4 separate regions of the Homo sapiens genome follow, and regions 1, 2 and 4 are each linked to region 3. The links are contacts of gene promoters, found by promoter capture Hi-C in blood cells and fetal thymus (Javierre and others, 2016). All regions are on one chromosome and are shown on one strand. Each heading gives the region's core, a stretch centred on a gene start or on the middle of the fragment in contact. The rest is flanking DNA. Distances are from core to core; before and after follow the strand shown. Region 1 overlaps CTTNBP2 (cortactin binding protein 2). Region 2 overlaps CTTNBP2 (cortactin binding protein 2). Region 3 holds the start of CTTNBP2 (cortactin binding protein 2). Region 4 overlaps CTTNBP2 (cortactin binding protein 2).

Region 1 (5,040 bases), core at 179-2,678, 130 kb after region 3:
TATTACGGGAGGCTACCAGACATGATATCTTTCAGAGCCTAAAACCCAGTCCCAAGCCCAACATCAAGGAGCCCCTTAAAGGACCACTGCCCTCTTAGCTCATGGTCTGAATCCTGGTGGTCATGCCTGGCTTTCCTCCACTTCCCAGAAGTGCTCACCAACCTTCCTTAGTCTCCTTAGAGGCCAAACCTCATGTCTTTTTTCTTTTTAACCTTGAGACAGGGTTTCGCTCTGTTGCCCAGGATGGGGTGCAGTGGCATGATCTTGGCTCACTGCAACCTCCACCTCCCGGGTTCAAGCGATTCTCCTGCCTCAACCTCCCAAGTAACTGGTATTACAGGCACCCACCACCACACCTGGCTAATTTTTGTATTTTTAGTGGAGATGGGGTTTCACCGTATTTGCCAGTCTAGTCTTGAACGCCTGACCTCAAGTGATCCGCCCACCTTGGCCTCCCAAAGTGCTGGGATTAAAGGCGTGAGCCACCACGTGCGGCCCAAAGCTCAAGTCTTAAAGGCCTAGGGTAAGGAAAAAGTTTAGTTCATCTCTTATGCTAAGAGCTTTTCTTCAAGCCTTCCTTTTATATCCCACAATCTGCCTCCTTGTAATGATGGACTGGGGCATTTTTACTATCTTCACAGAAGTCCATCCCAGCTACCATAAAGGATGGGCCTTTTCCTGTGATCTCAAAGGGACAACCTCATCAGAGTACAAGAGAGAGACAACACAGAGATACACACACACATTCTTACATTGTCCTGTTCTAGATTATAGAGAGAACAAACTCAAAACTTCTCTAAGTCTGGGTGGCTCAATCTTCACTTGAGCAATATCAACTGTATCAGTTAGGTTGGACCCTCACCTGTCCAAGTCCTTTCCGGCAAGACCTTGCTGCAAGACCAGCTTTCCATTAAGAAAGCTTCTCCCAAGCATGTGTGCTGGGCAGGGTGCAGGGGTGTCAGCCCTGGGATGACAGAAGTGGGAGGCTAACTTTCCTCTCCATATTTTTCTCAAGACATCGCTGCCTTTGCCCTGTGTAGATGATAATTGCCTTTCCATCCAAGTGCATGCTGAAACTCCATGTTCTCAGGCGAGGTATCCTTATACACGAGGATAAAGTTTAAAAAATATATATAAGCATACAGGCAGGAGATTTTCTTTTTGACAAAGCGAAAGTAATCCATCTCTACCTAGATTTCTTTAAAACACTGAATTCCAGAATGGAATAATATATAAAGTTGATCTGAGTTTTATACTCATCAAAACATCTTTTACCTAAGAAGTCAACACAAAGACATTATCTGATATACAACAGCTGTAAAAAGATGACACTCATGTACCCATCTTTTAAACATACACACACACACGCAGCCACTATGCAAAGAAAAAACTGGAAGGAAACAAAAATATTTACGGTGACTGTGGGTGCTGACACTCAGTAATTTTTTATTCTTCTTTATATATACCAAAATTTCCATAATGAAATGCATTACTGTTTTAACCACGAACAAGCTAAATAAGCATTGACAAAATTCCACATAAAGAGCATCTGCAAAGGATAATATAGAAAAAGTTACAGAATTTCTGGAAGGGACAAAATGAACTTGGAACTGTGTGTCTCAGCTACCCTGCAGACCCTCGCTATGGAAAATAGAGGGAAAAAATGTGTTTTTTTATAAAGTATCAGCTCTTGCTAAGTACCCTTTGCCCATGTTTCACATTCAAATGAGAGTACAGGTGTCCAATGATAAAGCTAATCTCTAAAATATTGTTTTTAATCTTTTGAAAGTATGAGGACAATCAAAAAAGAATTCCACACCTGTGTACCACTTTTTTCTCTCATCAATTTAGCATCTTCACCCTAGCTCTCTACTTGGTTTGTTAATAGGTTGAGCAATATCATAATGTCATTTTCCACGGCCCAGAAGGAAGCTTGCAAGACTACATAGTACATCAGCTTGCACTCTGCCTGAAGGTATTGATTACTTGTATATCAGCTGCTTTTCTTTGAAAATTGGCAAGTGCGTAGAACTAATCACCCTATTTTCTTATCACAGCACAGACAAATGGCTGCAGGATTCTCCTGTGAAATAGTGAGAGCTGAAGTAGATGCTGGTTTTTCCAAGGAACAGCTACTAGACCTGTTCATTAGTAGCGGTAAGAACATTTCAGCAAATTGCCTGTGATAACCTAAAGGCATGCTCTTCAATTATGCCATTAAGAGAAAATACACTGTGTTGCTTGGGGATACATTTAAGATAACTTTAATTATTCAGCAGCTGTGGGATAAACACTTGCAAAAATTATCTTCATGTGTATATTATTGCATTTGTTGAGCATCCTGCATTTTTTTCTTCTTTTTGTTATTAATCATTAATTGTTGCTAGCATACTGTCTTACTGGCACTAGTGGTATACCAAGGGAGGAGGTGGTAGGAGCAGTTCACCCTAGCTGGACTAGGTATTGCATCTTTGATGCTGTTTAGAACTGCTGGAGCATGGTGGTGATACACAGCAGATCAACTTTTTAGTAAATTTTATTACTCATAAATTCTCTACAACCAATACATCCCTTAGTGCTGCACCTGGGGCCAACCACTTTCTCTACCTCACTCTTGCTATGCCATTGACTGGCACTTAGTGAAATACATCACATGCACTAATTAACTCATTCAGTCTCCACAACAGCCCTATGCAAGTGTAGGTATCATTATTTCTACTTTCAAAGGTGGGGAAAGGGTCACAGAGAGGTCCAGTAATTTGCCACAGCTATGGTAGTAGCAGCACCGGGATTAAATATGTTTATTAATGTAATGTTATTAATGAGTTTTCGATCTTAGATTCCAGGGTCTAATACCCCACGTTTCATCACAGGTGGAATTAGCATAACCCTGCATTGCATACTGTAGAATAGCATAACTAGTGACTCTGACACAAAACTGAAATGGACCAGACTTTAGTCTCCTAGGGCTGAAAGCCACAGAGACCCCTGGGGAAGGGGCGAAGGAAGCAGTTGTAAGATTGGAGAAGGATAGGTTGAAATGCAAATTCAAAATCTCTTTGTTGGGGAGGGGTGCTTCTATATCTTGTGGCCAGGGCAAATGTAGACCAGGCTTAGGAAGATAGAACAGTGGCATGATCTCAGCTCACTGCAGCCTCGATTTCTGGGGCACAAGCTAACCTTCCACCTCAGCCTCCTGAGTAGGTAGGACTACAGGCACGCCCCAGCACTTCCAGCTAATTTGTGTGTGTGTGTGTGTATTTTTTGTAGACAAAGAGTTTGCCATGTTGCTCAGGCTGGTCTTGAACTCCTGAGCTCAAACAATCTGCCTGCCTTGGGTCTCCCAAAGTGCTGGGATTACAAGCGTGAGCCACCGTGCCTAGCCAGCACTTTCTAAGTCAACAGATGAATAGATAAAGAAAATATGGTACATATACACGATGGAGCGCTATTCGACCATAAAAAAAAGAATGAGATCCTGTCATTTGCAACAACACGGATGGAACTAGAGATCATTATGTTGCATGAAATAAGCCAGGCACAGAAAGACAAACATCACAGGTTCTTAATTGTTTGAGGGATCTAAAAATCAAAGCAATTGAATTCATGGAGATAGAGAGTAGAAGGATGGTTACCAGAGGCAGAGAAGGGTAGTGTTGGGTGTTGGGGAGTAGGTGGGGGTGGTTAATGGGTTCTGAAAAAATAGAAAGAATGAATGAGACCTACTGTTTGATAGTGACTATAGTCAGTAATAATTGTACCTATAGTCAGTAATAACTTAATTGTACATTGTAAAATAACTAGAAGGAGGTAATTGGATTGTTTGTAACACAAAGGATAAATGCTTGAGGGGATAAATATACCCCATTCTTTATGATGTGATTATTTCACATCACAAGCCTGTATCAAAACACCTCATAGACACACAAATACATACACCTACTATGTAGCCACAATTTTTTTTTAAAAAAGAAATGAAATTAAGAGGCAGGTTTAGGGAAGCACTGAGGATACCACAAACCTAGAAGCACATTTTAGGGGCAGGAAAATTCCAGTAGAATCTGAATATCACTGTACTACACAGGCCAGTCTTGGGCTAGAAATTAGTGAAAGTTAGCTACAGAAAGCTGTTTTTTCTGATAATGTTACTAATTGTAGCTAACATTTTGTAAGCTCTTACACTGGTGGCCCTATTCTTTTTTTTTTTTTTTTTTTTTTTTTTTTTTGAGACAGAGTCTCACTCTGTCACCAGGGCTGGAGTGTGGTGGCACGATCTCGGCTCACTGCAACCTCTGCCTCGCTGGTTCAAGTGGTTCTCCTGCCTCAGCCTCCCGAGTAGCTGGGGCTACAGGCGCTCGCCACCACACCCAGCTAATTTTTGTATTTTTAGTAGAGACGGGGTTTCACCATGTAGGCCCTATTCTAAACACTGCATTTATTAACTCACAACTTTCTGAGGCAGATACAGTCCCATCCCTGATTTATAAACATGAAAACACTTGAAATAAAGGGTTAAGTGTCCTACTCAAAGATCCCACAGCAAGAACATAAAACGGAACTCAAACCCCAGCAGTCCAGCTCCTAAGCCTGACCTTAATCACTACTGGCTTTAAAAACGCCCTAGTGCCAAAACATCATTTTTCCCCTGTTATCTAACAAAAGTCTCCCGCATTTTTTCAACTTAAAATCTTGCTTCTTCTCAAAATAAGAAGCTAAAGTATTTTGTGCTTACCCTATGGGGGTAGATAGCAATTATAGACTGAATTCTGCTCTAAGCTTAGAGAGCTAAGAAAACTGGAGTGCAATGAACAAGGTCACGAAGGATGCAAAGGTGACCAACTCAGCATTTCTAGATCTATGGTGGGCATCTTCTTAAAAAGAGCTGCTCTTCCTAATTTCCCAGTTTGGAGAGTGGCCCATGTCTCTTGACTCCCACACTGGAAACTCAGATCTCATTGGCAGGCTTGAAAACCTCAATGCCCCCAAGTAACAACAAGCCACAGGAAGAGGTGAAGCAGGCTGGGCAGGGCTGCAGGGAGA
Region 2 (5,340 bases), core at 2,348-4,847, 91 kb after region 3:
CATAAAGTTTAGATAAATATTGAATTTTATGAGCATTTTAATTTTGTATGTCACTACATGTAGTCCTAATAGGGTTAAAAACAATAAATTATTCATAGACCCAAATAATTGATTATAAAGATATAATATCCAGCTTTTTATTAGCAGTGTAGTTTCATTTGTATAATTGGCTTTGTTTTGCCTTTTTAATAAAGAATTTTTTAAATACTAAGTTCCTTTGATATGTACTTTTAAAATGCTAAGATAATTTAGGGCAAGTAATTTAGGATTTAATCATAAGAATTGAGTATTACATATGTATTAATATGACTCTCATATGCTTAGAATAATTATGCTGATACCAATGTACAGAGAGTATAAAACATCCATCTGTTGTATCTTACTAAAGGGATATTACCACATATCGTAATCAGGTGGCCATTCTGCCTTGTATTCCACTGCTAAGAAAGGACATGCAGGTAAATATGGCAAGATCTTATCTCATCATGCCACACACATGCAAAAGGATGTAAAGTCAAAAGCCCATGTGACCATTGTTATGAGCAGAAGGTTCAATATGGTTTTAATTTTCTTTTACAGGTGGTAGTGGATAGTTACAAAACATTTTAAAAATCCAAATGGTATAGTTCCTTAACATAAAATTTTACTGCAGCTAGTAAAAAGTAATCTTTGTTTTATGCACAATGAGATGTATTGTGCATATAGAAATTCAGGGTCTAGTCATTGTGAAACACTATTTAGAATAAAGCCCTCCATCTGTAATCACTTTGGTCAGGACAAAATAGTCTTAATTGGTCTGTGAAAGTGTGCCCTTAGGGATGAATATATGTACATATGCACAACAATGTTACAGGTATTAGAACCCTATAAGGAAAAAGCGGAAAATGTCTTATTTTGAAAATTCACTGTATTTAAGTCTAAAATACACAAATATCTATATGTCACATTGAATGAACATTTTTTACTTTACTGTTTTTACAGCCTTTTGATCAAGGAAGAATTCAGAAAATTTTTCATGCTATATGCAGCCGATTTCACACACTTAACAGACTCTCTTCTAAAGCTGCTAAATACTGATGAGAAATATCTAACTATAACTCATTGTTTTTGTTAAAATTATATAGTTGAGTGTCCTGTTTTGTTGGCTGATTAAAAGTTTGTTAGGCATTTTGTAAAGGTGGCCAGATGATACAGTCTTCACAATTGTATATTGAATATTTGTGCTGGTGAACTCTAGATCCAGTTATATATGTTATATTTTATTATCTCTTAATACTGAATAGCAGTTGGCCTCCATTATTTCTATTCCCAAATAAGGGAATTCAAGGAATATAAATAGACTCTTTGGTCCATCTTAATGGTTTACATAAAATTTGTAATTAAACATTTTAGAAACCTTGTTGAAAAAGAAAAATCTGTTACAATTATTCCTCTTATACCTAAAAATATCAGTTTACTTTTCCAGATTAATATTGAATTAGAGGAAAACTTTACCTTGTAAAACCTTTACATTTTAAAATTCAAATTGTTTTAAAATCCTGAAGAGAAATTTGAACTTTTAAAATGAGACAGCCATCTTAAGTTTTCCTAAAACCAGTCACCACTTTAACACTTACCTGTGCAAGACTCATGACTAAAAATAATTTTTTACCATGTATGTTGATTTAATTAGCAGCAGATGTAAGATCTGAAATAACAGTCCAGATTCATGCTAAGTAAATATTAACAGATTGATAATGTTAGAAACCACATAATCCTCTAGGGACACATGTTCATATGTTTGTGTGTGTGTAATTCAGAAAGGAATGGGTAATATCTGTCTCTTGTCCTTGCTCCTACTCTCTAACGAGGGTCACTTTAACCTACAGGCTGGTCACCCTCCCTAACCCCTTTGCTAATGAGTGGTGGTCCTGCCCCCCTGGCTGGCAGGCCCACCCTTCTTCAGCAAGCTGCTGCCCAGGGAAATGTCACTTTATTATCAATGCTGCTTAATGAAGAAGGACTGGACATTAATTACTCCTGTGAAGATGGCCATTCTGCCTTGTATTCTGCTGCTAAGAATGGACATACAGGTAAATATGGCGAGATCTTATACCACACACTTGCAAAAGGATGGAAAGTCAAAAGCCCATGTATCAATTGTAATGAGCAGAAAGTTCAATTTAGTTTTATTTTTCTTTTACAGGTGGTAATGGATAGTTTTTTTAAACATGAGATTTAAAGTTTTTATAAACATTTAAAAAATCCAAATTGTACAGTTCATTAATGTAAAGTTTTACCAGAGCTAGTAAAAAGTAATCTTTGTTTTATGCAAAGATTAGTTTGCATTTATGGTCTGTTAGAAATACCTGATATATGAGAAAGTCTAATTATCAGAACTTTAGTGCTACATGCTACAGTGAGGGAAAGTTTTAGCAGTTAGGTAAGGTCATGGGCCTGAAATTGTTCCACAGTTGGAACAATTTATAGTTATTTGAATGTCTTAAAAGAACCGAGAAGTTGTGTAACTATAAATGGTATATCGATGAAGACTGGGAATTATTCTTGTTCTTTAAAATGCAAATCCTGTAGTCAAATATACCAAAACATATGGGAGTGCAGAAAAAGAGAGGACTTGACCGCAAATGCAAAGTCAGATAGCGTTGCATATGGAAGCCCATATGATTGTCGATTAATTCAGATAAATGGAGGATTCTAGTGACCTCAGAGATCCCGTTATTTTTAAAGTATTCTAGAATTCTTCATAATCACCATGGAGATTTTCTTTAATATAGAAGAAGTAAATCTAGTAAGTAACATCAGGAATGTGACATCTAGGTGATATTTATTCCTGAGTTAGGTGACTTTCGATGGGCTGTCCTTTAGCCTCATTCATGGAGTTAAGTGTAGGATGCCCACCATCCAAAAGCAGTTTAAAGATTAAATTAAACATCATAAAGTAATAATTTATTTAAGTACAAAGAATGGTATTTCCGTTTGGTAAATGAATTTGATTCTCCATCCAGGAACATTATTTTCTGGGATAGACTGTTGGAAAGATCTGGTAAAGCATTTTCTGGCACATGACATTTTTTTTTACTCAGCAGCAACTCTTCCCAAAATGCACACACGCATGGGCACATGCGCATGCACACACACACACGCATCTTAGTGAATCTGGGGTATTATAATCTTTGGGAAAATTGGCTGCTTTTCCTGTAAAATAGTCTACAGAGTCTCAGGTCTGCCATGATGGAATTCTGAGATGAACTGTGCAGGGGAGAGTCCCTTTGGGATTAGAATCTATCTACAGCTTGTATAGAATTTGGCACATCATAACTCCAAATGGGGAATTTACATGGCTTTCTATTAAAATCCATAGACTGTGTGAGATTGCTGCTGAGTGCAGAAGCCCAAGTCAATGCTGCTGATAAAAATGGCTTCACACCCTTGTGTGCTGCAGCTGCTCAGGGACATTTCGAGTAAGTTGCTCTTAATTCTTTTTTTCCCACCATCAAAGGAGCCTCTTTTTATAATTTGCACACGTATTTTAGTTCCGGCTGAATGTGTAAACTAGTGCTTAAAATCACTGGCAAATAAATTCACTAAATATATTTGAGGATTTAAATGCAAACTAGGATTCTAAATTTGCTCTTAATAATAGTTAATGTTTGAGGGAAGTGAAGAAGAGAACTGGGCTGTGTCCCAACTGAACGTGAATGAACTTTCTTTGGAAGATCATCTATGGCATATCAACACATATGTCATGAGATGAAGGACTGTTGAGAAGTTTGTTTTTCACTGTTTTACACCATTCCAACCCCCTAAAAGATTTTTTACTTATGATGTCACTAAAAGTAGAACATAGAATTATATTGGTTGTAATAATCTAAATTTCCTAGTGGTAATGTATTCTAATTATTCATCTTGTTTTACCATTTAAAACAAAATGGAAGCATGAATTTTACATACTGAAAGTAGTTTGGGCATTAAGCTAAAGAGACCCTATTAATTAAAATATACCTAACTTTAGCAATGATTTCTTTAGTAGCTTACTAAGTCAGTTAGATATAGGCATGACTTTTTAACATTAAAAGTCATATTTTAACTTAAAAAAATAGAAAATAGCTAAGTTGCTTTCTCTGCCTGTGCTGAAATGGCAGGTTGTGGGAAACGCAAGTTGCTTTTAACTTTTTAATCTAACTGTCCCGATAGGAATGTTCTTTAACAAATTCCAGAATTATTGAAATATGGGTTTTTAAGGTTGACCCCATGTTATTAATCATAAATATAATTTTTTAAAATTCAAAATGAATTATTTATGTAGAGCATGATTCACTTTTCTGCATATCTACCACATACCTCATTACCCTGAGTTTGTCATTGAGAACCCTAGACACTGATTTTGCTGTTACTCTTGGGACATATCCTGACTCCTTCAAAAGGAATTTCTCCTGAGCTGTGCTTTTTACCTTTACTTTCACCAGGCAACCTGTAGGGGCACTTTCTTGGACATATAGCAGTCACAGGAATGGAAGCATGGATAACTTTGCAAACAGGAAGGACCCTGGAGAAATCTGGGGATGGATTTTTTTCTTTCTTTCTTTTAGACGGAGTCTTGCTCTGTCGCCAGGCTGGAGTATAGTGGTGCAATCTCAGCTCACTGCAACCTCCGCCTCCTGGGTCTAAGCGATACCCCTGCCTCGGCCTCCCGAGTAGCTGGGACTACAGGTGTACGCCACCACACCCAGATAATTTTTTGTATTTTAGTAGAGACGGGTTTCACCGTGTTGGCCAGAATGGTCTGGATCTCCTGACTTCGTCATCTGTCCCCCTCAGCCTCCCAAAGTGCTGGGATTACATGTGTGAGCCACCGTGCCAGGCTGGATTTGTTAATTTAAATGTGTCTGATACACATGTATATCAACATGTCACTTAATTTAAAAAAAATGTATAAATCAGATACTGCAAGGGAAAATTAGGAAAAACATTCATTGGAGTGAAAATAAAAGATGAAGTGGATTGCTTCTTACTTTGATTATGATTTAGCCCTCTTTTCTAAGTTTATTCTCAACTAATTTTACAACTTAAGCTCTACATGTTTAGCTAGTAAATAAGTGTCACAAAGTCTTGACTTTACCTCATTTCTTTCCTCCTTGATTCTCAGGACAGTGAGTTTCTGCTTAGCTATCTTTTCCTCATCAACTAGCCTGACTTCAGGAGACAGGACAACCTCTGCTGTCTTTTCTCCCCAAGGCAACCCTTTTCTCAGCCTTTCTGCTGCCTTTTATAGAGAAGGCACATGGTGCCCTGCTGTCTATGCTATTTATAATTATTTTCTCAAGTGAAAATCTCAGAATG
Region 3 (4,711 bases), core at 134-2,633:
TCTGCCCTGGTTTGTGTCATATTTGGGTCTAATTTGGAAAGTGGAGCAATTAAAGAGTCAAAACCTTTCATTAGGAGCCTGCCATTAAAAAAAGAAGAAAGAAAGAAAGAAAGAAAAAAGGAAAAAAAAAAAAAAAGCTTTGATCTGTAACCCTTGGACTGAACATTCTAGTCATTCATCTTCCAAAATTTCAAGTGCAAGATTTGGTTGTGGTTTGATTTTACGTCTTTGAGACACAGCTTGAATGTCTCAATTTGATTTTATGCATTCGACACATTTTTAGGGATCTGGTGATTTGGGAAGGGCTGTACCATATGGTCTTGGTGAGGTGATAGATTTTCACATTCTGGAAATTGGCAGCAAAGGGTAGGAACTGAATTAGATGTGGAAAGGGAAGATTAAGCGTTTGGGCCTAATTCACTCATCTCATGAAAAATCTTCTGAGACGTGTAATTCCCATAAAATCTATTTTTACAAATACGGCTTTTGTTTGATTGTTTTTGGTGTATATGTACACGTGTCCTCACACGTAGGGAGTAATTTTTTTAAATTCTCTCAAAAGTAGAGGACATGACATTTAGCTTTTAAAGCTATGACATTTAACACTTCTCAGTTAGTCCTTCAGGAGAGATCTCAGACTTAGGGGGGTCACAGAATATAAAACAGCCCGCTACACATTCCCTGAAAAGGAGATTGTATAGAAAGTTAGGAGCTGAGGGGCTGGTGCCACGTTCTAAAAGAAAACAGGACAGACAAATCGTTTTCATCTGAGAATTGTTTTTGGAGAAACACTAGAGTCAACGATAGAATAAATCAGAGCCAGGTGTGTATATATATAGGGAGGATAAAAACACCCTGGCGGCAATGAAATTTAAGAAAGAGCAATTTAAGAAGAAAGGGGTGCCCTGTGTGATTCCTCGCGGTGGGATAGAGGGAGCTGAAGTGTAGGATTTTCCCTGATCTTTCAGAGAATTCAGATTCAGGAGGCCTGACATTTAATCTGGTCTGTGCACGGATTTCTCCGGCTTGGTTGGGGTTCTGCGGAATGCAACGCTCCTCGGGCGCTTTCTGCCTTCACCTCTTCCGTGGTCTTTGATCCCCAGTCCCCGCGCAGGGCCGCAGCGGAGCCAGGTCGTGCGCCCATTTCTCGCACCTCCACGAGCCCGCGGCTGGCGCCACCGGGCGCGGGACGCGGGGCGCGGGGCGGGACCGAGGCGGGGCGCTCCGGCGCGCAGCGGGTTAAGCGGCGAGGGCGGTGGCGAGGGGCGGAGGGAGTGCCGCGGCTCCCGGCTCCCGGCTCCAGGCGCCCGCGTCCCGGACAGCAGCGGGTTAAGTGCCGCCCGCGCGGAGACGGCTGAGTCCGGAGCCGCGGCTCCGAGCTCGCATTCGGATCCGCTAGAGCAGGAAGATGGCGACGGACGGCGCGAGCTGCGAGCCCGACTTGTCCCGGGCCCCGGAGGACGCGGCGGGGGCCGCGGCGGAGGCGGCGGTAACCGAGTTCCCGGGGCGGGCGCGGGGCTAGTGTAGACGCGGGCCGGGGGCGGCGCCGGGGTCCCAGCCGGACCCGACTTCGCACCCCCGGGGCGTTCCGTAAGCCCGGGACTCTCCGGTGCCCCTTCATCGGGGCCCCCCTTCCTCGGGATGCCCACACGGCGGAGGCCGCGGGGGGGAGCGGAGCGGCCACCCTGGCTGGGGATCCCTCCTGTCCCTTCCGCGCCCCACGGGAAGCGGCCCCGGGTCGCCCGGTTCTCCCAGCTCCCTGTCTGCGTCCAGTGCGACCCCTATGCCCACTCCCTCCGCTGCGGTCGCTTCTGGCCGGGGGAGAAGGCTGGGACGTGTTTCCTGGCGAATTTGACCCCCCATTGTTCACCTCTCGCTGCGCGCGTGGTTGCCAGCGCGTGTCTCGGGGGTGCCTGGTACCGCTCAGCGGACCCGGGAGAGCAGCTTGGGGGAGGTGGGCCATCGCCCAGCAGGTGTGGGGATGCCCATTGTGTGCATCTGGTCCTGTGCCTTCGGGAGGCCCACTGGGAGAGGGCCGTGTCCAGATGTGGGCGCTGCTGCCGCTGAGGCCAGCGCTTTAGGTCCTAGCAGCCTGCTGCCCCATTACTTGGTGGTAGTGATTGGGGTGGGGTGGATGGATTGGTTCTTCCCGAGACGATGCTCAGGAGAGGTGGAGGTTCTGCACCTGGTTTCAAGACATTGTTCTCCTTCTCTGGAGTCTAGAGGCCGAATGCGCTACCATTCTTGACTGGTCCTTACTTTCACCCCCTTAATATTCCGGTGTAGAGACTCGCTGGTGGTTTCCAGCCTCTACTTTGGGGAAGGGCTGGACCCACATTTCCTGGGTGGAAAAGGTTCTCGGTGTTTGGGAAGCAGCTTCGCAGGAGCTGCAAGGAGCTGCAGAGAAAGGCAGATCTGGGAGCGCCTCCCACTCTTGGCCAGATCTGGCTGCTCCCGCCGAAGGATGGGGTGGGATGGAGCGAGCGGGGCGTGGACGCCCCCCTCTTCCTATCAAGACCTGAGCAGAATCAGTGCAGGAGAGGGCAGGGCCGGGCGTAAACAGCGGGGGCCGCTTTAACTTCCTCCCACCCTCTGGAGGTAGGGCTTTCTGGAGAGGGAGAGGAGAGATGTGGAGGAAGGTACTTGGGGTGAGAGGAGCTGAGCCTGGCAATGGAAGGAGAAACGGGGAGGAGGACTGCTAATTTCCACTTGTAAAACTGGCAAGTTTTGATTTGAACTTTTGGGAAAATTGAGTTTCCATTCTTTGCATAGAAAATGAGAACTTTAAGATTTCAAACGAAACCTGCCCACTTATGTGAATCAGCTCCCCTCTGTGGGGCACAGTAAGGAAACTAGCTATTGAGACAAGGCTCTCTGGCAAGTGGAAATGATTTGGTGCCTTCATCCCCAAAAGGTGGGAAGGGGAAGGACGAGGAAAAAGAAAGAGGGTGTGTGTGTGTGTGTGTGTGTGTGTGTGTGAAGGGGAAGGACGAAAAAGAAAGAGGGTGTGTGTGTGTGTGTGTGTGTGTGGTGTGTTTCTTGTTCCCCAGAAAGGTTGAATTTGTTTACTTAATCCACTCAGAATGGGTTTCTGTTACCCTCAATATTTTAATCACCTGACAATTAACCCAAACACAAACATCTGACTGATGGTCTGTAGAGCTGATATATAGTTTTGTTTGGTTAGATCGTAAACAAAACCCAGGACGCCAGGCAGATTTCTGTGTTAACAAGGTCAGTGTTCCCTCTCTTCTGTTTAAAATGTTCAAGTCTGATTTTCACTGCTGATAGTTGGGGATTTGATAATTTCACCCTTGTTAATGGGCAGAGCCATGGAAAATCTGCGAAAGTGAACCTTCTTTGCTATTTCCATAGAATCCTTTAGGGTTGCGAGATGCAATAAGGATTCTTCATCTAGTAGTTTAAAAACCAGTAATAATTTCTGAATTTTTAGTAAAATTTTGATGATGGCTTTTGTAGTAAATTGGGCCTTTTATTTTAGTTCTCCAAATAGTTTTGACTTAATAAGGCATGGTTCTCTCATATCAGCCGCTTGACCTATAGACTGATTTTTAAGTGAAAGGAAAGCTAGTGTAGAGGAGTGATATGTGTCATCACAATTGCTCCTTAAAAATCAGAGGCGTTTTATGCATTTTGGGTTCTTGTTGACTGATATTTTTTATTTTAGTGAACAATTCACTTTGCATTTTGGAGATTTGTTGACTTTCAAATTGGTTTACATATCGTGCATTTTTATGTATACATTTGGCAGTAAGGAGTCAATGGAAGCTCTAAAGCAGTAGGCTATTTTTGAAAGTGAGTGTTTTCACTAAGCTTTGACTATTTAGATTGTTGCTTAGAAACAAGCTTAATTTATAGTTTTCAGTTTAATATCATTTTTAGTGGAATGTTTTAAATTTAGTTTGTGATCCTCATTCTTAGCTGTTTAAATCCTGAAAGCATCCCAAGTTTAAGGCTGGGTAACAGCTACATTATTCAATAGGATCATATTAATAGTCTTTGCCGTGAACCGTGCCGGGAAACCTGGGCTATTTTCAGTGCCTTAGCCAAATGTGATGACTTTTATAGGCCATATTGCTGTTTCCACTCTGAAAATAACTCCTAATGGATAAGGCAGTATGGAAAACGAAATCTTCATGCTTTTTATTGTCACCAAAGAATTTTGGAATGAAAGGAAAATGGAGATCTTTTTAGAGCTATATTTGGGAAGCCAACCAACATTCTTGTCATTCTGAGCTTTTCTGGAGCAGCTAATAGACAAGAAGTAGGTATAAAATTTGTTGTCATGGTGGCAGTGACAAAGAAAAACTTGGACAATGATTTAAAATGCACGACAGTGATGTTAAACAAATTAACAGCTGAACTTGAAATTTTTGTTTTCCAGGTGACAGTATTGAATGTAAATGCACTGAAAAGAACTTTCGTAGCCAATTGCGCTAAGCGTTTTTTTAAACTAAATTATAGTTACGTGGCAGCTATAGAATGTTGAAAGTGTTGCAGCTTAATTTTTAAATAGGAAATAACGTAGATTTAACACACATTACTGAACACTTACTGAGATACAGGCATCATGAGTATGATCTTTGCTACCCTAAAGTAATACATTCCAGTGATAGAAACTGACATACGCCAAGGAATCAAATTGGGGATGATGGTGTCATGAGAGGCAAAAATGATTTTGCATTAGAAG
Region 4 (4,673 bases), core at 450-2,949, 110 kb after region 3:
ACTCTAAATGGAAATCTATTAGGAAATGGATAAATAGAATAAACTGTAGAAAATTCATATTTTAAAGGTACCAAGTAGCACTTAAAAATAAATTTTATCTATATAAATCACCTGAAATACATTAAAAAAGTGTTGAGTGAAGAAGTCAGTTATAGAAGGACACATAATATAAAACCATCTGTGTAAAAGTTTAAAAATACAACTCCAAGCCTATATTTGTTATAAGTACCACTAAATAAGGCAAAGTGTAAAAATATGCATAGGGGAGGTAAGAGCTTCCCTATGGAAGATTTAAGTGAAAATTGAAAGGCTGAGCCAAGAAAGAGTGGAAAATAGAGCCATTCCAGGTGAACTAGCAGCATATCTGGAGGCACTGAAGGGGATGTGCTTTGGAGTCTTTAGAGGTATTTAGCTGTATCTGCAGTGCTGGGGAGAGGAGGGAGATGAGTATGGGAAGTCTAGAGTCAGGTCATAAAAGGCCTTGTATTCCTTTTGACTCAATCTTCCATGTAAGTTTTGATGCAATCCTGTGGACATGAATGAACAATTGAACGATTGTAAGTGAGGAAGTAAGATGTAGGTAATGGGGAAATAATTGTCTTGATCTTGATACACAGGATACCATAGATGGGGAGCATGACTGGTACCTAGTAAGAGGGAAGGAGGGCTGAACAAGCCAGGGAGTCACAGGGCTGGAGAACAGGGTCATGGTTCAAGTCATAGGGGTGCTATGAGACAGGAATGATATACAGGGTGAGGGGAAAAGCAAACTGAAGGCCAAGCCCAGAGAAACCCCCATTTTTAGGGCAGAAAATATTTTTTAAAAATGACCCTAAAAGAAGATTGGGAAATAGGAAGGAAAAGAGCCAAAAAATAATGTTGTATGGTCAGGCATAGTGGCTCATGCCTGTAATCCCAGCATTTGAGGAGGCTGAGGCAGGAGGATTGCTTGAGCCCAGGAGTTCAAGACCAGTCTGGGCAACATGGCAAAACTCCATCTCTTCAAAAAATAAAAATAAATTGCCAGGCATGGTGACACGTGCCTGTAGTCCCAACTGTTGTCTGCTCCATGGGTGCTGAGGTGAGAGGATTACCTGAGCCAGGGAGGTCAAGGCTGCAGTGAGTCAAGGTGGCACCACTGCCCTCCAGCCTGGGTGACAGAGAAAGACCCTGTCTCAAAAAAAAAAAAAAAAAAAAAAAGAAGAAGAAGAAAAAGAAAACAATGGTGTAATTGGATTCAAGTTAGGAGACCTTTCCAACAGGAAGAATTAATTTAATAGTATCACATTCCCTAGACTATAAGGATTAAAAAGAGTCGATTGCATTTGGCAAATAGAAGTTACCGCTAACAGGGAGACAAGTTTTGTGCAGTTACATAGAAGCTGATTATTTTAAGCTGAGAATAATATGGAAAGACAGTGGAAAAAATCTCTGGTAGAATAGTTTTCTTCATCCATTGAATAAACACCTTTTTATTAATTCATTGAACATATGCTTATTGAGCTGCTCTTGTGCCAGTCACTATCTTAGCCACTTGATGTAAGTCAGAAAATTTTTAAGAAGATTGTTCTCATCCTGAAGCTTATAGTCTAACATTAAGAGATAAAATGAACAATAAATATAAGAAAAATTTATTTTTTGGCATTGTGAGGTGGTGAGATATGCTATGGAAAAGACTAAGGGGGATGAGGATTTAAAGGGTGTGTTTCAGCTTTTAAAATGGTGGCCAAGTTTGCCTCACTGATGAGACATTGAAGCCAAGGCTTGAAGGAGGTGAACAGGGCAGCTATGTGGATATCTAAGGTTCAAGAAGCTTTAGCACGAGTTGGACAGAGGCCTGAGGTAGCAGCATTCCTGTTGTGTCTGAGGAACTGCAAGGAGGGCAGGATGACTGGGTTAAAAGGAAAGAGAAGCAGGAAGACGGGTCAGAGCAGTAGCCATTTCAGTGTTTGAGTGCAGGAGAGCAGTTACAGGGTGGAGCGTGGCCTGATCTTGTTGGAATGCGTAGGCCATTGTAAGAACTTAAGGTAGCCATTGCAGTGTTCGATTGTAGGAGAGATGGGATCTGATGCACATTTTAACAGTAGCACTGGCTGCTTTGTTGAGAATCAGCTATAGGAAGTCACAGATAAATCAGGAACAGCTGTTAGTACATGCATATGGTATTCCAGGTGAGAGACAATTATGGTGGCTCAGTGTAGGAATGCAGCAGATGAGGTAATGAGAAGGACTTGGGTTCTGGATACAGTTGAAGGTAGAGTCAACAGAACTTCCTCATGGATTGAATGTGAAGTGTGAGGGAGTATAATTCAAGGTGTTCAGTCTGATAATTCAAGGTGTTCAGTCTGACCAACTGGCACGATGGAGTTGCCAGTACTTGTTAGGGGGAAAGGCCATGAGTGAAACAGATTTTCTCATGTAGTTGGGGAGTTCAGATTTGGATGCAGGAATTTGAGATGTCTCTTAGGATATCTGTGTGGAGATGTCAAGTCAGCAGGAATTCCTGAGACGAGTGAGAGCTGGGTGAATAAATGTGAAGGTCAGCAGTCTATCAGTGATATTTAAAGTCATGGGACTGGATGAGATCACTAAGGGAATGAACATGCACAAAATAAATAGAGAAAGGAGCCCCAAAACACACTATCATTAAGAAGTCTGGAAAAGGTGGAGAGAACAACAAAGGAACAACATTAAAGAGCGACCGAGGAGGTACAGGAGATCCAGGAGGAGTATATCAAGGAGCAAAGAGAGATCACTTTTGTCAGATACTGTGGATAAGTAAGATGACTGAGAGTCAGAAAATGGAAAATAAGTAATCCAGCAGTTGGTTACTTAATGGAAAAATCTAAGTTTAAGAAGAGGATCATATAAACAAACACATGTTGTTTTAAAACATTTTAATTTTAAAGCATACAAAGGAATTTTTTACCAAAGTTTAGATAGAGGTCTTTAGTACAGGTTCTACTGATTAAAATTTCACATACTCTTGTTTGAAAAAAACATACCTTTGATGCATCATCTATGATTTCTAATGTTTGACTGCTTAAACACATTTATGAAGCAAACTAAAGGTAATACCTGTCCAGAGATTATTAAACCATTTCTAATTTCATATAGTTGTCCCATTTATACCTCATTAGATAAAATTTTTTAACAGTTCCTAAACTGTCTCTAAAGGATTCAACTTAGTTTTCATAGGAACAGTAACTCATATTTCATCAATTTATGGAATACTTAATTCAATAATTATAGTCATCAGTTCAATGAACATAGAATATTTGGAAACAAACACAAGTAACTCAGCATACAATTCAGTCATGAGAACAGAAGTAGATGGGGGTGCTACCCACTCTGCTGGAGCCTCAGTCGGAGAAATTGGAAAGAACATTTCAAAAGTTAAATCCTGCTACCCTGTTAACCATTTATCAAATACTTACTGGTATTTACCACATAAGAATATGTAAAATCTATTACAAAAGTAAGTTCATTTATTTTTCACACCAACTCGATATACATTCCCTCCATTTTATGGAAGAAATTGGGGTACAGAGAGATCAATTTACAAGAACACGCATCTATAGGAGGCTGACCCTGACTCTGCGGTTCAACCCAAGGTCTATATGATTCTCAGTTACTATCCTAAGCATCCCGACCTGTCCAACTATAACCTGCCTCATCCATGACATTATCTATGAAGGAAAGGAGAATATAGAGAATTCAGGGTCAAGGGAGGGTTATAGTTCTTTCAGATTTTTTTTTTTAAAACTTGACAATCTTGCTGATGGGAAAGAGTTAATGAAATAGAAAAAGCCAAAGATACAAGGAAAGAGACAGTTCGTGCAGCGTGCTTCCAAAGAAACTGAAGAGATTGGGAGACAAAAGTTTACTCCAGTGTAAGAACGTTCAATGTAATGTTATTTAATGAAATAAAATAGCTTTGGTTTATAATTTTTAAATGTTTATATCTGCTTATTTTATGTAATAGTTTTACTTTTTTTTTCTGTCCAGATTTTTTTAACTCCTAATTCTTTTACTCTTCTAACAGATGCTCTTAAAATACCCTTAAGGATTTCAGTGGGTGAGATTGAACCAAGCAACTATGGTTCTGATGACTTGGAATGTGAAAACACAATATGTGCTTTAAATATCCGCAAACAGACATCATGGGATGATTTTTCAAAAGCAGTGAGTCAAGCTCTGACAAATCATTTCCAGGCAATCTCTTCTGATGGATGGTGGAGTCTGGAAGACGTGACTTGCAATAACACCACTGATTCCAACATCGGCCTCAGTGCAAGAAGCATACGATCCATCACGCTAGGTATCAGCAGTCCTATGACGGAGAGAAAGTGAAATTTCTGGGTTTATTTATGTTTGTGGGTTTCATAACCTGATTCTTAGTTCATTGATTAAGCACATTCAAAGCTTACTTGTGGCAGCTGCCGGTGCTGAAAAACTTGAGTATTCACAATGTAGCCATTATGTAATGTTGCCTGTTAATATAAAAATGCTTTTATGCCCCAAATAATACTCAGAGAGTAAAAAACATGAAAGCCGTTGATGAGGCTTTGTGATTGCACTTGCTATTCTAGATAAATGCAAGAAACTAAACACCCCACAGCTGCTTGCTTTTGCGCAAGTACTGAACACAGCTCAAAATTTGTTCTTGGGTT

Evidence for each region. Contacts are between HindIII fragments. The CHiCAGO score rates a contact against its expected background, and 5 or more counts as called.
Region 1: a fragment that was not itself captured here is called in contact with the fragment with the promoter of CTTNBP2 in region 3 in 2 of 17 cell types (megakaryocytes and erythroblasts); the score reaches 9.6 in megakaryocytes.
Region 2: a contact is called between a fragment that was not itself captured here and the fragment with the promoter of CTTNBP2 in region 3, in 1 of 17 cell types (megakaryocytes). The highest score is 5.4, in megakaryocytes.
Region 4: a contact is called between a fragment that was not itself captured here and the fragment with the promoter of CTTNBP2 in region 3, in 1 of 17 cell types (megakaryocytes). The highest score is 5.1, in megakaryocytes.

Annotation. Positions count from the first base shown.
Region 1 is chr7:117,742,948-117,747,987 of GRCh38, reverse strand. CTTNBP2 (cortactin binding protein 2) reads left to right here. Exons shown (of 23, transcript NM_033427.3): 13 at 1,889-1,975; 14 at 2,058-2,157. Among named protein-coding and RNA genes, the nearest start is that of CFTR-AS2, 98 kb to the right of the region's middle. The HindIII fragment of the contact is 1,013 bases long and covers 922-1,934 here.
Region 2 is chr7:117,780,983-117,786,322 of GRCh38, reverse strand. CTTNBP2 (cortactin binding protein 2) reads left to right here. Exons shown (of 23, transcript NM_033427.3): 5 at 1,869-2,072; 6 at 3,362-3,461. Among named protein-coding and RNA genes, the nearest start is that of CTTNBP2, 90 kb to the left of the region's middle. RefSeq lists silencers at 1-268, 2,589-3,104, 5,216-5,340 and a cis regulatory region at 5,216-5,269. The HindIII fragment of the contact is 8,715 bases long and covers 1-5,340 here.
Region 3 is chr7:117,870,113-117,874,823 of GRCh38, reverse strand. CTTNBP2 (cortactin binding protein 2) reads left to right here and starts at 1,383. Exons shown (of 23, transcript NM_033427.3): 1 at 1,383-1,489. The coding sequence starts at 1,409. The HindIII fragment of the contact is 3,697 bases long and covers 140-3,836 here.
Region 4 is chr7:117,760,083-117,764,755 of GRCh38, reverse strand. CTTNBP2 (cortactin binding protein 2) reads left to right here. Exons shown (of 23, transcript NM_033427.3): 10 at 4,046-4,321. Among named protein-coding and RNA genes, the nearest start is that of CTTNBP2, 110 kb to the left of the region's middle. The HindIII fragment of the contact is 232 bases long and covers 1,584-1,815 here.